2 separate regions of the Homo sapiens genome follow, and region 1 is linked to region 2. The links are contacts of gene promoters, found by promoter capture Hi-C in blood cells and fetal thymus (Javierre and others, 2016). All regions are on one chromosome and are shown on one strand. Each heading gives the region's core, a stretch centred on a gene start or on the middle of the fragment in contact. The rest is flanking DNA. Distances are from core to core; before and after follow the strand shown. Region 1 overlaps DOC2B (double C2 domain beta). Region 2 holds the start of NXN (nucleoredoxin).

The links. The method cuts DNA at HindIII sites, captures the fragments that hold promoters and counts their contacts. A CHiCAGO score of 5 or more calls a contact.
Region 1: a contact is called between a fragment that was not itself captured here and the fragment with the promoter of NXN in region 2, in 14 of 17 cell types (M2 macrophages, M0 macrophages, naive CD8 T cells and 11 more). The highest score is 18.0, in M2 macrophages.

The regions. Positions count from the first base shown.
Region 1 is chr17:150,674-153,373 of GRCh38, forward strand. All of the region lies in intron 6 of DOC2B (double C2 domain beta), which reads right to left. Among named protein-coding and RNA genes, the nearest start is that of SCGB1C2, 14 kb to the left of the region's middle. The HindIII fragment of the contact is 3,739 bases long and covers 1-2,700 here.
Region 2 is chr17:978,409-981,108 of GRCh38, forward strand. NXN (nucleoredoxin) reads right to left here and starts at 1,368. Exons shown (of 8, transcript NM_022463.5): 1 at 911-1,368. The coding sequence starts at 1,270. RefSeq lists enhancers at 281-1,216, 2,641-2,700. The HindIII fragment of the contact is 5,276 bases long and covers 1-2,700 here.

The sequences.
Region 1 (2,700 bases), core at 155-2,654, 830 kb before region 2:
AAAGTTGGGATTAGGAGAGAGAAATGAAGACATATGTCCACACAAAAACCTGTTCATTGCAGCTTTCTACCATCACCAAAAATTGCAAACAACCACACGCCCTTCAACTGGGGAACTCATCAACAACAAACTTGTGGTTTACCCACACAATGGAAGACCACTTAGCAACAAAAAGGACCAAACTCCTGGTACATGCAACTGACAGATGAATCTCAAACGCATTCCTCCGTGTGAAAGAAGCCGGACTCACAGGGCAACACACTATCTGACTGTTTCATGGGAAAGTCTGGAAACGGCAACACCATTGAGACAGAAAACAGGTGAGTGGTTGCCTGGGGCCAGGGAACTTTCTGGGGTCATATTCTCTGTGTTGATTCTGGTGGTGGAAACAAGACTGTCCCAGCCTGGGTGATACAGCGAGACCCCATCTCTACCAAAAAATTAAAAATTAGCTGGGCATGGTGGTGCATGCCTGTAGTCCCAGCTATTCACAGTGCTGAGGTGGGAAGATGCTTGAGCCCAGGAGTTCAAGGCTGCAATGAGCTATGATTGCGCCACTGCACTTTGGCCTGGACAACAGAGCAAAACCCTGTCTCTAAAAAAAGAAAAGAAAAGAAAAACTCACTGGATATGAATGATACAGGTTGAGGATCCATTATCTGAAATGCTTGGACCAGATGTTTTGAATTTTGGATTTTTTCATATTTTGTAATCTTTGCAGTATATTTACCAGTTCAGCATCCCTAACTCAAAAATTCAAAAATCTGAAATCCCAAACGCGCCAATAAGCATTCCCTTTGAGCGTCATGTCGGTGCTTGGAATGTTTGGGGTTTTGGATTTACAGCTTTGGGACGCTCAACCTGTACCTCAATAAACCTGATTTTAAAAAAGTTTGGGGGGATTCCCCTAAGCCCGCCACCCGGAGACAGCGGATTTCCTTAGTTACTTACTATGCTCCTTGGCCATTTCTCTAGGTATTGGTATATTGTGTCTGCTGTGAACTGTCCTTGGCCTGTTTGGTGACGGGTGAGGAGCAGGGACAGAAGGGTCCTGCGTGCCCTGCCTTCACAAGCCCCTGGAAGGAAAGTTGTTTTGGGATCTCTGCACCCTCAGCCTGGACAACTTGTGCCCATCTGGTGACCCCTCACTCAGCCACCAGACTTCCACGACAGGCTCCAGCCTCGGCACCTTCAGCCATGGACAGTTCCGCCAGCGTTGCCCTCTGTTCTGCTGTTTTCTCTACCAGAAGTGCCCTTCCCTCCTCACCTGACCACTCTGGGGAAATCCCTCAGCACCCTCCCTGAGCATACCCTACTCTGGCACAAGCCCACCCTGCAAAGCCCCTGAGGCCCGCCCTGTGGCGTCTCTCCCTCCCTTGCTGTCAGGACAGTGGTCCTGGCCACCGGGGCTCACGGAGCCGCCCTGTGCCGTGTACCTCTGAGCCCTCTGCACAGTGCCTTCTGCTTGCCTGTGGCTTTGAGAAGAAACCCCTTCTGGTTATACATAAGACAGCCAGAGAAGGGAGTTGCCCAGGGTGGCACAGCACGTTGCTGCCAGTTACTGCCATTTTCACGGGCATGAAATGGAGATAACAACAGGAGCGACCGCACAGGCTGCTGAGCGCGTCACACGCAGCCATCGCGCAGCTCAGGGATATTACGTGTAACTCGACATGTCAGCGATTGTCACAGGCACTGCTACTCCTGGGGTTTTCCATCAAACCCTCAAGAGCTGGGCCTGGGGTCAACTTCCGGCCTGGGGAAACTGGGGCAAGTATCACCAGAGATGAGCTTTATAAAAATAATGGTGCTAGCTGGGCATGGTGGCTTGCACCTGTAATCCCAGCACTTTGGGAGGCCGAGCTAGGAGGATCGTTTGAGTCCAGCAGTTTGAGACCAGCCTGGCCAATACGGCAAAACCCAGTCTCTACAAAAAATACAAAAAACAACTAGCCAGGCGTGGTGGTGCACACCTGTAGTCCCAGCTACTCAGGAGGCTGAGGGGGAAGGACTGCTTGAGCCCAGGAGTTTGAGGCTGCTGTGAGCTGTGATCGCATCACTGCATTCCAGCCCGGTGACAGAGTGAGTCACTGTCTCAAAAAAGAAAGGAAGAAATAAAGAAAACAAATAAAAATAATAGTGCAGACAAAAGGCCTTGACCCATCTAGCTTTGGCCCTCAGCATCAACCGCTAGATACGTCCCTCCCTTTCTTCTGGGGCACAGGTCACACTCTCTTCCAGGTCTAGGATGCAGCTGAGGGGTGCCCCTCTTACCATCTAATCTGTGCCCTTATTTCCTCTGCTTTAGTGAGGAAGAGGCCCCTGGTCCATGAAGGGGCCTTTCAGAGACGGGGACCCCTGAGGAGCCCCGAGCAGCAGCCGTCGTGTCTCACCCAGGGTGTCTGAAACAGATGTGGAGGTCTCGGGTGAGGCGTGGCTCAGATACAGGGAGTGGCCCACAGCTCGGCCTGTCTTTGAAAGGCCACGTGACCTGGCCCACGGCTGGCAGGTGGGACCCAGCTGCAGGGGTCCAGCAGCACCCACAGCAGCCACCTGTGGCAGGGAGGAGCTTGTGGTACAGTGGACAGGCCCTGCCCAGATGGCCCCCCGCCTGCCTGTGGAAGTTGACCAGACCATCTGTCACAGCAGGTAAGACTCTGCTTTCTGGGCAACCCAGCAGGTGACCCTGGAATTCCTGTC
Region 2 (2,700 bases), core at 118-2,617:
AGAAGTTGACAGCAAAGTATCCATTTCCCCAAATCCTCCTTCTTCCAGTCAATGTGCATCGATGGGGTCAGCTCAGCCCTTAACTCGAAGACCCCGGGACCACAGGGGCCACCACGCAGCTGAGCTCTGCACAGCCCGGGCTGTTCCCGCGCCCGGGAGGCGTCTGGGGAGGAGGCTGGACGGCCAGACAATGCAAAGCTCCCCGGTGGCCGCGAACTCAGCCTGGGGCGGGGGAGGCGGGGGCGGGAGACGGAGCCGTGAGCGCCCTTCTCGGCCACAGCCACGGCCACGGTCACCGGCCGCCTCTCCTGACCTCGGCCTCGGCCCCCAGGTCCCCGGTCCCCGGGGAAGGGGCTCCGGGAAGGCAGGTTTCTCCCGGAAAGAAAGGAAACGCGCTGGTTTGGGCGCCACGGGCGGGGGGCGTGCGCCCTCCCCTCCCCTCCCCTCCCCACTGTGGGAATCCGCGGGGGTCGGCGGCGGAGGCAGGAAGGGCCTGGCGCCTCTGCTCGCGGGTGAAGGGGTCGCGGAACCGGGATCCCCGAGCGCAGCCGCCCCCACCCGAGGCTCCCAGCGTGTGCGGACGGAGGGGCTCGAGCCGGGATCCCGGGGGCCGAGGGGGGTCCAACTTTCCAGGGCGGGCGCAGCGCAGCACTCGAACCAAAGAGGGGTCCTGGGATGAGGGTGCGGGCACAGCGCGGAAGGGGGGGGGGCAGAGGCGGGGACGGCGGGGTGGGGGGCGGGGAGAGGACAGTGGGTCGGGGGGCGGGGGACTGGGGGCAGGGGTCGGGGGGTGGAGGGCGGGCAGGGGGACAACGGGGTTGGCGGAGGGCAGGGGTAACGGGCGTGGGGGGCGGGCAGGGGTAACGGGCGTGGGGGGCGGGCAGGGGCCGGCGAGGCCCGCGCCGCTCACCTTCCTGTGCTTCTCCTTGTAGGGCAGCGCCAGCCACGGCATGTCCCGCACGAAGTCCTGCCACTGCCGCTGGTCCTGGTCCGAGGACACGAAGACGATCTCCAGGCGCCGCCGCGGCTCGGGCTCCGCCGCCGCCCCGGCCCCCGCTCCCGGCCCCGGCCCGGCCGCCGCGTCCCCCCGCAGGCGCCCGTAGAAGGCGGCCAGGCTGGCGCTGAGCTGCGCGCAGGGGGCGCTGAGGCTGCAGCCGAAGTAGAGACCCAGCAGCGAGATGCCGCGGGCGCCCAGCGAGTGCACGTCCACCTCCTCGCCGCCGCCCGTCACCAGCTTCTCGCCGAGCAGCTCCTCCAGGAAGCCCGACATCCTGGCCCACCGCAGGGCGGGCAGGCGGCTGCGACCCCGCTCCACGGTCCGCGCGGCGGGAGGAGGCGGCGGCGTCGGCGGCAGGCGCTGGGGAGAGCAGAGCCCGGCCCAGTAGGGCCGCCCACGCCACGCCCCCTCCGCCTGCCCGCGCCACGCCCCTTCCCCCGCCCTGCCACGCCCCCTCCGCGGCCCGCGCCACGCCCCTTCGGCTGCCCTCGCCACGCCCCTCCGCCCGCCCTCGCCACGCCCCCTCCGCCCTCGCCACGCCCCGTTTGCGGCCGGCGGTGGCCAGAGCTCTCCGCCCAGGCGGGGTCCGCAGCTGCCGGCCGCGGTGCGCGGGGTGACTGCTTGGGCGAGAAGCCGGACCCGAAACGCCGCACTCTCCCTGGAAAGCCCACGGCCGAAGTGAAGAAAGGAGAAGGGCCCGCTGAGCCGGCGCTTTCCCGGGCTGCAGCCCGGCCCGCATTTTCTCTCCTCCCCAGTTCTAAATTCCCTCCAGACCTCCAGGGATCCCGCCCCCTCCCCGCGGAGCTCTTCACCCTCTTCCTGTTCCTCCCCGGCCTTTCCCTCCTCCTCTCCCTGCACGAAGCCTGACCCTTAGGCCGCTCCGGGCCCCACTGACCCTGAGATGCTTATAGGACCCGCCGTCCTCACTGCATCAGGCCGGGCCTGGCTGGACACTGACTCCTCTGTGTGTTCCAAGCTGTTCTAAGGGGGCCGAGGACGCCCTCGCAGCTTCTGGTGGGGTCTGGTTAGGGTGCCAGGTCTCAGTGTGGGATTTCCGTCCAGGGGTCGCCGGGGCCTCTCCCCCCAGCGAATCTGTCTTCCAGCCCCACAAATGGATGCAAAGGACGCCGCGGGGCCTCCAGACCAATGCTGGCCGCGCTCCTGAATCCGCTCCATCCTCATGTCAAGTCTATGGATAGTTGAGAACATTTCTAGAGATTTTTTTTTTCCTACCAGCTGGCAGGATGCTCCCCAATGCTTAGGGAGAAGCTGGATTAAACAGGTGGTCTGGGCCGGGCGCGGTGGCTCACGCCTGAATTCCCAGCACTTTGGGAGGCCGAGGTGGGTGGATCACAAGGTCAGGAGTTCGAGACCAGCCTGGCCAATATGGTGACACCCCCCCCCCGCCTCTACTAAAAATACAAAAATTAGCGGGGTGTAGTGGCAGGCACCTGTAATCCGAGCAACTCAGGAGGCTGAGGTAGGAGAATGGCGTGAAGCCGGGAGACGGAGGCTGCAGTGAGCCGAGATCGCTCCATTGCACTCCAGCCTGGGCAACAGAGCAAGACTCCGTCTCAAAAAAAACAAAAAAACAGGTGGTCCGTGGCGAGTACTCTGGCCACGCAGCGCCTCCCCCCAACCCAACCCACTGGTGCACGAAGCAGGTGCAGATCCGGGCCCAGCCACAGTAACAGGCCGCCGGT